Regions from separate parts of the Homo sapiens genome. Here region 1 is linked to region 2. The links are contacts of gene promoters, found by promoter capture Hi-C in human tissues and cell types (Jung and others, 2019). All regions are on one chromosome and are shown on one strand. Each heading gives the region's core, a stretch centred on a gene start or on the middle of the fragment in contact. The rest is flanking DNA. Distances are from core to core; before and after follow the strand shown. Region 1 overlaps PARD3 (par-3 family cell polarity regulator). Region 2 holds the start of PARD3 (par-3 family cell polarity regulator).

Evidence for each region. The method cuts DNA at HindIII sites, captures the fragments that hold promoters and counts their contacts. A contact is called where the count stands out against the background at its distance.
Region 1: a fragment that was not itself captured here is called in contact with the fragment with the promoter of PARD3 in region 2 in 1 of the 25 tissues and cell types used here (dorsolateral prefrontal cortex).

Annotation. Positions count from the first base shown.
Region 1 is chr10:34,768,675-34,775,454 of GRCh38, forward strand. All of the region lies in intron 1 of PARD3 (par-3 family cell polarity regulator), which reads right to left. Among named protein-coding and RNA genes, the nearest start is that of PARD3, 43 kb to the right of the region's middle. The HindIII fragment of the contact is 5,152 bases long and covers 2,221-6,780 here.
Region 2 is chr10:34,812,377-34,819,377 of GRCh38, forward strand. PARD3 (par-3 family cell polarity regulator) reads right to left here and starts at 2,920. Exons shown (of 25, transcript NM_001184785.2): 1 at 2,500-2,920. The coding sequence starts at 2,619. PARD3-DT (PARD3 divergent transcript) reads left to right here and starts at 3,392. Exons shown (of 2, transcript NR_108043.1): 1 at 3,392-3,425; 2 at 3,744-4,046. RefSeq lists silencers at 2,159-2,438, 2,959-3,128, 3,219-3,268. The HindIII fragment of the contact is 8,052 bases long and covers 1,006-7,001 here.

The DNA of each region.
Region 1 (6,780 bases), core at 3,547-6,046, 42 kb before region 2:
ACTCTGAGGGTGTCACAGCAGAGTGAAAAAGAGAAGGGAAAACTTACTTGGCTCTGGCCCACTTTTCTTCTCTGCACTCTGGATGGTGGAGCCAGGCAAATGGCTTGGTCCTTGGCTGCCAGCCCTGGCTGAAGCCCTGCACACATGCCACTCCCTGCTGAGCGCACTCAGGGTGCGGCTCCACCCCAGGCATGGTGACAGAGCTCTGAAGGGAGGTGAATATCCAGTTCCCAGCGCCGAACTCCAGTTCACGTCACCCTCGGTGCCCAAACTTTACCGCTCAGCCCACCTAAGATACACTGCTCATTACCCGCCCTCTCAAGGCTCGGATCAATAAACTCCCTTGACTTCTGCCTCCTGCCAAAACTGAATGAATTCCATTACCCCACCGTCTCTCAATCTCAAGCTGGTGTCACTGTCAGCAAACCTTCACCCTCCACATAAACAAGGTGGCCCCTTCTGCCCCAAGTCATGCTTTGCAGCTGTCTGCACAGGGCTGATGGCACAGCCAACCCCCAGGGCTTCTAGGATGCTGGCAGACCTCCACGGATACTGAGCACCACCGGTACGGCGACCACCAGGGCTAGGTCTGCCTACCAACACCCTGACCGAATCAGTCACAAGCTTATCTGCCCACCCCTATAGCCACATTCTCACTTAAAATACTGCCTCCAAATGGCTTAACGGAATGCCTCTGAAAACTGAACACCAAATCGACACTGCCAAAAAACACAGTCAGCCCTGAATTCAGCCCACCTCCTCCCATTTATCCTCTCCAGGTGAAAATCATTACTGTAATTTTTTTTTTCTTTGTCTAAAACCATACCTCCCGGCACTTTGGGAGGCTGAGGCAGGTGGATCACTTGAGTCCAGGAGTCCGACACCAGCTTGGGCAACACGGCAAAAACCTGTCTCCATAAAAAATACAAAAATTAGCCTGGCACATAGTGGCACGTTCCTGTAGTCACAGCTACTCAGGAGGCTGAAGTGGGAGGATCACTTGAGCCCAGGAGGTCAAGGCTTCAGTGACCGTGATCATGCCACTGCACACCAGCCTGGGCAACAGAGGGAGAGAGAGACCATGTCTTTAAAAAAACAAACAAACAAACAAACGAACAAAAAAACAAAACAAAAAAAAAAACAAGAAAACCATACCTAGTGTTCTTCAGTTATACACTTTTCTCAAATTCATACACACACACACACAATTATAACCATTTCATACTTACAAGGGGTCCTTTCCTAAGTGACATTAATTCAGAATGTGGGGTTCCCCTTCTCTAGTACACCCTTACCATCAAACCAGCTCCATCTGGTTAAAATACAGCCCCAATTTCCCTGCTCAAAAATTTTCACTGGCTCCCAATGACTTCCTCAGTATTAGCGGATGGCCCTTCATCCAAGACCCTCCGGGACAGTCATTTCCTAGCCTTATCTTCTGCCTGCAGACCACATCACCCAGCCAAATGTTTCCTGCTCCTTAGACACAAGTCACCCTTCATGCTGTTTCAGTCACCATGCCCACACATCTGTCCTTCTATGAAGATCTAGTCAATGCCATCTCCTCCCAAAAGTCTTTCCTGGTTATGGCCAATCCATGATCATCTCACACCTTTGAACTGCAAAAGCACTTCTTACTGCTGATTAAAACTATCACTTTTTGCCTGGTATTCTAAGCATTCTTAAACGGAGATGACACCTCGAGCCCTCGGCTAGCCTGTAAACGCCTTGAGGGCAGCACCTCCAACCAAACACCCTGCACATAAAAGGGTTATCTGGATGTGATGAAGTAACTTGCTCCCAGACTTTTCATCCTAGAGGCCCTGAGGGTCAGGAAGAACTGTAAGTGAAAGGGAGCCATGGGCATTTCTGAGCAGGAAACTCTTGCGCTGGACCTGCATTCTGAGAAAATCAAGGTGTCCCGGCAGAGCAGAAAACGCTAGCCTTGCAGTCAAGACTCACCTGCCACTTACAAGGTATGTGGCCTTGGACAGATGACTCTCCCACCACGGACCACAGGAATCTAATCTAGAACTTTTGCTTTCAGAGTAAATTAGGAAAGGCAGATAAATTGTATCTTAAGTTCCAGTTTCCTAGGGGTATCACCTGCAATGATGTAGAGATTCCAAGACTCCAGACAGGGATGTGCCCTGTTCTCAGTTTCCATGACAGACCCGGAAAGGTGGGCAGCAAAGTGAGGCCATGGATTTGCCAGCCCTGGGCCCCGTGATCTTTAAGGTCTGACATCATTGGATTTGGAAAGGCTTTGAGATGCTCCTCTGGGAACTCAAAACCCTAAAAGTCTACAGGGTTGTTCTGCAACGGAGATGCAGAACTCCCTGTGATGGAAGACATAAAAGGGAAAGACGGAGAGACAAGAGGAAGGAGGGAAGGAAGAATACCAACCTAGTATTAAAATTGGTCACTTGAAAACATGCAAGCCCTGTGATTTTCATCAGGAAACTGCACAAAAAGTAAATTCATAATGTCTTTTAAAAGTTTGCATTCCTCTGATTAAAATGTTCTGGCTTTTGAAAGCAAATGGTGATGCTAAATGTGCTGGGCACAATGGTTACATCAGGAAGAAAGACGGTGCAGCTCAGAACGTGGCTCTGCCTGTCCCTGTGGTTTGACTCAACATTGCTCAGCCTCCCCTCTTCATCTGAGGTAACAGCAACAACTATGCCCCCCACACAGGATCACTGTGAGATTAAAGGGGTCCCACGTGTAGCATAGTGCCTGGCACATGGGGAGCAAAGAGTGAAGGAAGGCTGGCTACAGTTATTATCACCATCATCAAGATCATGACTATGTCATTAGCAGCATATTTCTGTCAGCGTGTTAATGCAAAACAATTTTTTAAAACAGAAAAGTTACACAAAACTGAGAAAGAAAAATGACGTCGGTCAGCCCGACCTAGTCTTACAAAATTACTTGCTGGCTTTTCTTTGGTGTCTGGTTTTGATGCCAGCCAAGGAACAGTTGTCACTAACTCTTTTCAATTTGGTGGTGTATCTTATGAAGCAAGAGGTGCTTAGACAAAGACACACACATGTTCAGGCTGGTATACAGAAAAGAACTGATCTGATAGAAATGAACATCCTGTGCTTTCAGGTAGAAACAAAGGAGTTTTTCAACAGAGTGAGCTCAGATCTTGTATTCTGGAGCTTCAGAGGAATACAGCAAGTTAAAATGACACTTTTTCCTAACAGCTCGCCAGGATAAGCCAATGAAGATGGGTCACACCTGGAAACAACTTCCATCAACCCCTGGCAGGGGTAAAAAGTCATTTGTGGATCCCTTTCACAAAGGTAAATACCAAGGAAGTTCTGCAGTCTGGAAGGTAGAGTGGCCTACATTCATCTCGCCCAACAAGCAGAATGCAAGATGCACCCCTCCAGGGGTTCCTGCTTTCACTCACAAATCCAGAATGCCCTGGTCAGTTCTATAGCAGAAAACCCAAGCTCACTGGGCGTGGTGGCTCACACCTGTAATCCCCGGACTTTGGGAGGCTGAGGCGGGTGGATCACTTGAGCTCAGGAGTTCGAGACCAGCCTGGCCAACATAGTGAAAGCCCGTCTCTACTAAAAATACAAAAAATTAGCAAGGCCCCCTGTAATCCCAGCTACTTCAGCCTGGGTGACAGAGCAAGACTCCATCTCAAAAACAAATAAAAAATAAAAGGACTTGCATTCCTCGAATAAAAGTTATTTTCTCATTATCAATTGTAAACCTGTTTTTAAATGTTGATACCAACTGACAATATCAAATGTAAGACAGTATCTTTAAATCAAAGTAAATACAAATGATCTAAAGCTTTAAAATGAGGAATACACGCCGGGCATGGTGGCTCACGCCTGTAATCCCAGCACTTTGGGAGGCTGAGGCGGGTGGATTACTTGAGCTCAGGAGTTCGAGACCAGCCTGGCCAACATAGAGAAACCCTGTCTCTACTAAAAATACAAAAAAATTAGCCAAGCGTGGTGGTGGACGCCTGTAACTCCAGCTACTCGGGAGGCTGAGGCAGGAGAATTGCTTGAACCCGGGAGGCAGAGGTTGCAGTGAGCCGAGATCGCACCACTGCACTCCAGCCTGGGTGACACAGCAAGACTCCATCTAAAAAAAAAAAAAAAAAAAAAAAACTATTTCTACATGGTTCTATAGCTTGTATTCTCAACGGAGCAAGAAAGCCTGTAATAAATACCTTTGCAAATACAGAACACTCAGCAGATGGAATGTGAACTTTAAAATATGCCCTTAACATGTTACTTTACCAAAATTACTTCTCATTCATACCCAGGCATCTTGGAAAGCTACATCCATTTACACAGCAAATGAGCAGTTTGTAGAACCACACGGCACACCAAAAACAGCTGACACATCTCCTTGGATTTAAAACAAAGTCATCCCAGCATCTCATTTTCATCCTACCATAGCCTTATCTAATTCTTTAATGTTCTCTTTACTTTGATGAGGAATTTAATTATAAACAAAAAAAGAGAAAATACATCTATAAACGCTTGCCCCACAACTAATAACACTTAGATATTATGTTAGTTATAACATGTTTAACCTTGTTCTCATCAGTGTTCATTTAATGTTTTACCTTTTTTCACTTGGCCTAGTACAAGCATGTTTCATTCTGCTATATAGACTCTATGTTGTTTCTTCTAATGAATAACCGTGGCTGACTTCACCATTTTCCTCTTGTTGAACTTCTGAAGCTATTCTAATGGTTTCGGAAATTAAATAATGTGGGACTGAATATCCTTACCCATAATTTCAGTTCCCTAGGGATAACAAGTATTACAGAGGACTGCAAGGGCATGAACATTTTTGTAGATCTTGATAATCATGCCAAATTGCTGTTCCGAGAAGATGCAGTCTTTTACACAACATCACCAACAACGTCCAAATGCACCAGGCCACTGTGACTTTGCAGCGTCAGGTATGTTAATCATTTTTGGTTTTGCCAATTTAACAGGATATAGGATAATATTTTAACTTTTGAGTCTCTGAAGACTAGGTTTATTCGGTGCTTTTCTGTGGCTTTTTACTGGTTAATTCCCTCCTTTGTGAATTGCCCACTTGGGTCCTTTGGGCAAACATCCACTAGGCACTTAATGTTCTTCTCATAAACTTGATGGGGTTAAAGTGCCTCATAATTGTTTTGCATTTTCAATTAGAAGCTTTCATAATATGAAAGAATAATAGAGACTTAATTCCATCACTGATTAGTTGGATAAATGTTCAGAAGTAAACCAACATTATCACTACCCCCAAGGACTCCCACCTCTGGGAAATAAAATGTGCTTTACTTTAAGCCAGTGGCTTTCCAAGTTACTAAACACAGTCCACATTTCTCACCCACTACTGCTTTCCACTAGAACAAACTCAGTGATAAAAATGGACTATCACCACGTAAACAGAGGGGAGAAAATACACACCTATTTAGAAACAGAGTCACAAATGAGTCATATTTTAACAGCAAAACATACCTGACTTCAATTCTCATTATTAGGAAATTATAACTCCAAAGCACTACTGATGCTAAAAACACAGCACTACATCCTATAGATCTGGCCAAAGAACTCTCCACAAACTGCACGGAGTCACCTTTTAGGCAAGGCTTGGCTTCTAAAATCAAGGCTAAGGTTAAGACAAAATTATCCTTGAAAATTACTTAAATAGCACACACAGTAAGCACATGTGGTTTTCTGAGTGCTGCATTACCTTTCACAAAGCCTAACCCTGCCAATTTTCCTGCAGCATTGGAAGGGATTGCTGTTTCTATGGTTGAATACCAGAAGAAACGCATCTGGCCTGTATTTAAGGAGATGTTGCATGAAAAAAATACATATTGTTAATTATTTTTAAGCAAACATTGAGACTTGAATTAGTATAAGTTAAATGCACATGACACAATGCAACTGTAAACTGATGATAAAGACAAATGAACTAATTTATAATTTAAAACCAAAACAAAAGCAGCAATTGAAAACCACAACCAACTCAACACTACACTGATCTTATACCAATAAAACATCCTTCTCACAATTGGCTTGAATTAAAACTACCTGCATGCACATATGTCATTGCTTTGCAATCCTGCCAAGTACTAAGTGACATCCAGACTTTAGAATACTGAACTGAAATCATCAATGAAATCTAGCAATTTCACTGGTATCTGTATTTGATATAATTTTTCATTTACAGATACCAAATTTCAGTGACTCCTGGAAGTTTACCTAGTTACGAAGATGTATGTAATAGTAGAACCCAGTGGAGGATTTACATCAACACTCAAGGTTTCTCAGTAATTGTGCTCTGAAGTCACCGCTGTGAAAACAAGTGCCAAACAAATAAAGGAAACAAAAAATATGAGCAAAAGTGGGCATTTTTTAAAGTCACAAATCCTTTCAGTTTGGAGACTTACACAACATAGAAGCAGCATAGAACCCAATATTTCAAGCTCATATGACAGAGCAGCTGCTCAAAATACAGCAGCACTCTAAATTTATATACTACTGAACCAAGATTGACCACCAAAAGGAACAAATCAGTCAGGCATGGTGGCTCACACCTGTAATCCCAACAGTTTCGGAGGCTGAAGCAGGAGGATCGCTTGAGGTCAGGAGTTGAGACCAGCCTGGGCAACAAAGCAAGACCTCATCTCTGCAAAAAAACTAGCCAGGCATGGTGGTGTGTGCCTGCAGTCCCAGCTACTTGAGAGGCTGAGACAGGAGGATCACTTTAGCCCAGGAGTTTGAGGCTGCAGTG
Region 2 (7,001 bases), core at 1,670-4,169:
AACTATCCAGCCACCCAATTCTTCACACAGAATTTCTCTTGTTCTATTAGGCAATACGGATAAGGAACAGATAGAGAATAAAAGTTAAAACAGTGTTAAATACATATTAACACTTCCTCATCACTTAATATAGAATGGGAAAAGTAGTAAGAAAGACTAAAAATTAATCTTAATCATTGTCTAGCAATTTCAGAAGAAAAACGAGAAAAAGGAGACCTAGAAGACACTCCAGCTCTGGCAACATTTAAGGGTCAACAATCTTGGGATCCAATGACTGAACTTGGTATACTGCAAAGCCCCCGTTAAAATTCACCTACAGAACTCTAAGTTGTACTTAAAGAGCATGTAAGTGTTGGAACCCCTGACCCATCTCTGACCCTCCCTCTCATCTCCAACTCCCATGTCACTATCACCCTCCCTTCCTTCAGCTCATAGGCCCCTTTTCTCTTTGTGACACCTTCCCAGACACCCTTAAAAAACTGCACTCCCTTTTCTACGCCCTGTGAAACAACCACTGCTAATCGTTAATAAGGACCAGGTCCGTGACCAAGGCCCTGCACTCTAGCCACCCAGCATCCCAGAGGCCACCTCTTCTCCCCATGTCATCACCAGCTCCTTCACCTGGAGGACCCCGCAGCCTCTTGCTCAGCTTCTCACAGCCAGTGGGTCCCTTAGATGTCCAGCACCCAGAACAGTGCCATGGACACAGTCAAAGCTTCAGAATTTCTGTGGAACGAATGCCTGGAACAACTACATTTGAACTACTGCCAAACAGGCAGTTCAGCCTATGTCTATTTTGTGCAGGATGAAACATGGGACACAGTAGGTAAAACAATTTTAATCACATAAAATTAGTAAAGTGAAAGAAAATGTTGACCACCCTCTTCCTATTCAGGAGCCTAGACGTACTGCAGAGTGCATATTACTTTATTTCTCTTTCCTTGCACAATTTGTTTTGTTGGTTTCCAGAGTGCCTGAACAATTTGAGTACTCTTTTGGAACATTTAAAGCATAAACTGTCACACATAAACAACACTTAAAAATGCTAAATGTCCATTTAGATGGTTTTCTTTCCCTTTGTCAGCTTTGCAAGATAAACAGGTGCCCAATTCCCACTAATTTTATTTGATTTTCAATAAAAGAGTTCAACTGTAAGGAACATAACAGAGCTACTAAAGCCAACGTCTTCCATCCTTGTGTCGGGTCTCCAAACGTCCCCCAAAATTATCTTTAAAAGGCCAAATTTATGCTATTTTTTCCAATATATACTAAAAGCAAAACAAAAGTCTAAAAAGCTTTTACTTCTTAATTTCTGAGAGAACTGAAGATGCCACCGGAGTACCCTGTGTACGCTCAATAGGGCTGACCAAGCCACTTTCCAACGTCATTTGCAGCCCCCAAGCCCACAGGGGCCAGGCCACTGTCGGGAACAAATGGGAAATACTGCACCCAAACGAATGCGCTCCCCACCAAAGAGGACTCTACTACAAAGGAAATATATCCCCGGGTGCTTGGGAGAAACTTCAGCGTGGGCTGTTGTCAAACACAGACACAGTCGGTAAAACAATTTAACAAAACGCCTTTTCACTTCTGACACACAGTAGAGGAATGCTGTGAAGTGGAGACAATGTTATCAGTCCACCAGGAAAAAGGGAAATCCACTCAACTCCCAAGTCAGGCCCGGCCCCGCAGCCCAGCCACATGGAACCAGCCCGGGATAGGTAGGAGCTGAGGTCCTCGCAGGAAAACTTTTCATTCCGCGACTCTTCCAAGGTTGTGCTTTCCAGAGCCCAGCAAGTGGGATCAGCTCAGTAAATGCTCGCAAGCGAGTGCCAAGTGCCAGCGGTGGCCCTCCCGGGAACGCCTCCCCGACCCCAAGCCGGCGACTCCCCAAACCCTGCAGCCCCCGGACGCGACGGGCCGCCCCTGCCGGCCCCTACCAGCAGGGGACATGGAGGAAAAGCCCCCCGCCGCTGTTCCGCCCCCGCCCGAGTAAGGGAGAGGAGGCAGAAGGCTCGCAACCCGCCTCTGTCGGAAGGGCAGTCACGAAACTCTCCTCACACCAAAAGTTCCCAGTCCCCGGCCTGTGCCCCCGGGGCCTGGGAGCCGGGAAAGGCCTGGGGCTGGATTTCCCGGCCTGCGCCCCCCGCGCGCTGGCTCGGGGCTTGGCTGGGTCTGCAGACTCCGGGGAGGCGCCCAGGGCCGGCCTATGCGCCGCTGCCCGGCTCGCCCCGCGCTACCGAGGCCGGAGCTCCCGGGCGGAGGGTGAGGGCGGGGGCCGCGGGACCCGGCTGGGTGTCCCAGAGGCTGCGCCCCGGCCCGCGCAGAGAACTTTGGCGCCCGCAGTCCGGGGCGGGGGGCGCCCGCGAGGCCCGACCGGCCGCACTTTCCCTTTCCCCGCCTCCCTGCGCCTCTCCTCCCCCTTCCAGGAAGCGCCATATTGATCCCGGCGCCGTCCCCGCCGCCGCCCCCTCCCCGCCCGCGCCCCCGGCCCCTCACCTTGGCGATGGCCTTCCGGTAGCGGGTCACCGCCTGCTGGATGAGGCTGAAAACTTTCATGTGGCCGTCCCCGCACGGCACGACCACCCGGGTCCGTCCGAAGCACACGGTCACTTTCATGCCGCCGCCGCCGCGGGCGGGCCCGCGCCCCTCGCCGAGCGCAGCCGGAGCAGCCGAGGCCGGGACCGAGGACGCTGGGCGCGGAGGAGCCGCTGGGGACTCGGGCGCGCGGGCGGCTAGGGGCGCGGGCAGGCGGCGGCGACGCCGGGGGGCCGCTCAGCTCGCATGCCCGGCCCGGCCGCCCTCGCCTCGCCTCGCTTCGCCCGGGGCTTGCCTCGCCTCTCCCCGCCGCGGCGCCCGCAGCCTCCGGCCACCTGTTCGGCGTCGCGGCGCGCTCGCCGGCGGCTGCCCGGGGCTGTGTGGCGCTGGCGCTCGCTCGGGGCCGCTGGGGGAGGGGACGGCGGGAGGGGAGGGGAGGGGAGGGGAGGGGAGGGGGAGGAGCAGGGCAGGGCACACAACACCGCGCACATGCGGCAGGGGGAGGCGCGGCCGGCTACCCGCGCGGGGCGGAGCGCAGGACCGCAGCTCGCGCCCCCGCCACCGCCCTCGGGGGCCGACCTCCTTCCCTCCTTCCCTCCCTCCCTCCCTCCCTCCGGGGGCGCGGGACCCCTCGCCCCAGTGCCAGCACGGGCAGGCGGCCGTCTGCCCCCACCAGCCCTGGCCCAGGCGCCCCCCAGCCCCCTTCACCCCGCCCGCCCAGCACCCTGCAGGGCTGCGTCGCCCCTCCTCGGGGACGCCCCTTCCACGCCTCCAGAAGTCTCCACGGAGCCCCCCTTCCCCTTTCTTTGTCACTTTTAATCCCATTCCTCGAACTGGAGGGTTTTGGGTGCAGGCGCTCCCGGGGAAAGCAGTTTGTGCTCAGTGCGGTGAGTCCCCTCCTCACCGCCCCGGAGGCTCCAGCCCGAGCCTCTCCGCCCGCGGGGACTCGAGCCTGCAGCTTGCTCGGCTGGGTTTCTGCCCTGCCCGCTCCCTAGCTCTGCTGCAGGGCCGGCAGCGGCAGTTCTGCCTGAAACGCAAGAATTAATAGTCTGCTCTGGGGAGACAGTGGGGAAGCCGTGAGCGACCGGGCCTTTTCCAGAGGCCACTATTTACCTTGAAGTTTCCTGTTGACCCTCTGCTGACCCACCCGCTTAAATAGATTAGAACTTAAACATCGCAATTCTGATACATTTATTTCTTTGAAGTTCTGCAGCATAAGGAATCCTAACGCGAATCCGTGAACAGTCTATTCCGACGGCGCAGAGAAATCTCACGCGGGGATCCCCACGATGTGCCGGCGCTTAACGCAGACGCCCGAACCCAGGGGAAGGCTGCGACTCCGCGATGAGTGACATGCGGGCTTGAGACGTTCTAAAGGAACGTGGACCGAGTTAGGGAACGTAACTGAAGCTCATTTTGTCTTAGTTATGGACTATGAGTCCTTAATAAATGTATGTCATTATGTTTAAAGAATGACAAATGTCTGCAAAGAGTGGTCCCTGTCCCAAGCCCTTTCCAGACTATGTGAAATTCTTTTTTGCCAGTTGTTTCCAAGACACGTGAAAGCAATCAAGCTCCCCTGGGTTGGCGCAGAACTTGAGCACTTAAGAGCTGGAAGAGCTGGCGATCGACCATCCATCCCACTCCACCTCCAATCTTAAAACAAGGAAACAAGACACGAGGTTCGTCCGCTTGCCACACTCCCTGCGCTTTGCAGCACCGCAGCTGCCCCAGCATAGTGCAGTTTCTCCTAGGAAACATTGCCCTTCCTCTCCTCTCCCAGCCCTGGACCACCACTTTCCACCACCTGTCCCAGCAAATCAGTGCAGTGGTGTTAGCCCCATCTTACTCCAGGACATTGACCCAGGGCCAAAGTCACTTGCCCAAGGCGGCAGAGAAAGCTCAAGGCAGACCCAGAAATAGTCTAGGTTTCCCTCCTTCCACTCAGCCATGGGAAAGGCTCCTCCTACTGCTGTTTGGCTGCAGCACTAGACATTTCTAGCCAGTAATTAAGTTTGTGACAACGATGACAACAACTGTTGATGTGGGTTTTTTGCTTCTTACATAGATACTTGGATCCACAACAACAATTACTGATAATTATAGGTGTTGTTTCTGTTTTCATGCATTGGGAGAGTATACTACTAGTTTAGAATGTATACTACTTTATTTTATTTTGTGTTTTTTACATTTATTTATGTATTTATTTTTATTTATTTATTTATTTATTTATTTTGAGACCAAGTCTCGCTCTGTTGCGCAGGCTGGAGCGCAGTGGCGTGATTTCGGCTCAGTGCAACCTCCGCCTTCTGGATTCAAATGATTCTCCTGCCTCCGCCTCCCGAGTAGCTGGGATTATAGGTGCCCGCCACCACGCCCAGCTAATTATTGTATTTTCAGTTAGAGACAGGGTCTCACCATGCTGGCCAGGCTGGTCAATCCGCCCGCCTCAGCCTCCCAAAGTGCTGGGATTGCAGCGTGAGCCACCGCGCGGCAGAGAATGTATACTAGTTTTGATGCTACACTAGTTCAGAGGGGTATACTAGCTTGAGTATAATAAATTAGAGTGGGGCTTTCTCAAAATAATTCTAATCGAAAGTCATTTTTCAGTAATAACCAGAGTACATAGGACATCACACTGATCTAGGTTCAGATCCATATTTGGCCACTTACTAGTGCCTTAGACACAACAGTCACTCTTTCTCCAGCCCGTTTTATCAGCTGAAAAGTAGAGAAGTAGAGCTTATCATATCCATATCCATCTCATAGATCTCATAGGTTATGAGTCAGTCTTTCTTTTTTTTTGAGATAGAGTCTTGCTCTGTTGTTCAGGCTAAAGGGCAATGGCACAATCTTAGCTCACTGCTGCCTCAGACTCCCAGGCTCAAGCAATCCTTCCTCAGCCTCTAGAGCAGCTAAGACTACAGACAAATACCACTATGCCCAGCTAATTTTTAAATTGTTTGTAGAGATAAGGTCTCACTATGTGGCCCAGGCTGGTCTTGAACTCCTGTCCTCAAGCGATTCTCCCGCTTCAGCCTCCCATAGTGCTGGGATTACAGGTGTGAGCCACGGCACCTGGTCATAAGTTATGAATGTTAAATAAAATAATGTATCAGAAAACAGTACGGCTGGGTATGGTGGCTCACGCCTGTAATCCCAGCATTTTGGGAGGCCGAAGTGGGCAGATACCTGAGCTCGGGAGTTCGAGACCAGCCTGACCAACATGGAGAAACCCCGTCTCTACTAAAAATACAAAATTAGCCGGGCATGGTGGCACATGCCTGTAATCCCAGCTACTCGGGAGGCTGAAGCAGGAGAATCGCTTGAACCCAGGAGGCCGAGGTTGCGGTGAGCCGAGGGCAACAAGAATGAAACTCTGTCTCAAAAGAAAAAAAAAAAAACAGTACATGCTGCCACGCTGCCACATGGGAATGTATAGCGTAGTACAGTCCAGTTACCGTAATGAAGGCAGAGGGTAACAAAGTCCAGCACAGGATAGCAAATGATGACAGTGGAGGAGGCAGGAGAGATGAGGAGGACAGGAGAAGACCAAGGCTCAAAGAAATGACTAGCCAGGTGATACAACTTTCCAGTGACTGGGCTAGGACTACAACCAAAAACTCCAGCTCTGACTCTCAGGCCTGCACTCAATTCACTTAAATTTGATTCCACATGCAGTTAGTAAAGACCTTCCTTGCAGGAAGCACTGGCTAAATATTACAGAATTATAAAGGTGAGTAAAAGAAGGACAATCTAGAGGTCAGAATAAGATAGCTATTCCAATAACTATAATTCAACACATTAAATATTCAGTGCCAGCAAAGTGTTTATGGCGGTACTAGAGAAGGGGGAAGCTTTCATAACAGAGATGACATCAGGATATGTGGATACCATTTTATGTACATCAATTCCTTTAACTATTCAATACCTAATAAGGATATGGATGTTTTTAAAAAATATGATCCAGAGGATTAATAACACTGATTCCACCAACCAGATAAAGCCTTACAGCTGTATTTAAATCTACCTAGTTTATCTAGATGCAGTGATTCCGTTTATATTAATAATGGATGAAAAACTAGTACTGCATAATTCTAGATGCCAGAGCCTTTGGTGTCTTGAGTCAAAATTCATGAAAATTTTTTTGTAATTCATAAAATTTCATGACACATTGGGAATACATATCCAAGTCCTCACCTGCCCAAATAGAGCCCCCTTCAAAATATTCCAGGGTTGCCCTCAACCAGTCCATCAGCAACCATCACCAAAGTATCCACTGCCTTTTTTTTTTTTTTTTTTTTTTTTGAGATGCAGTCTTGCTGTTGCCTAGGCTGGAGTGCAGTAGCACGATCTTGGCTCACTGCAACCTCTGCCTTCCGGGTTCAAGGGATTCTCCCACCTCAGCCTCCCAAGTAGCTGGGATTACAGGCGTGCACCACCACGCCCGGCTAATTTTTATA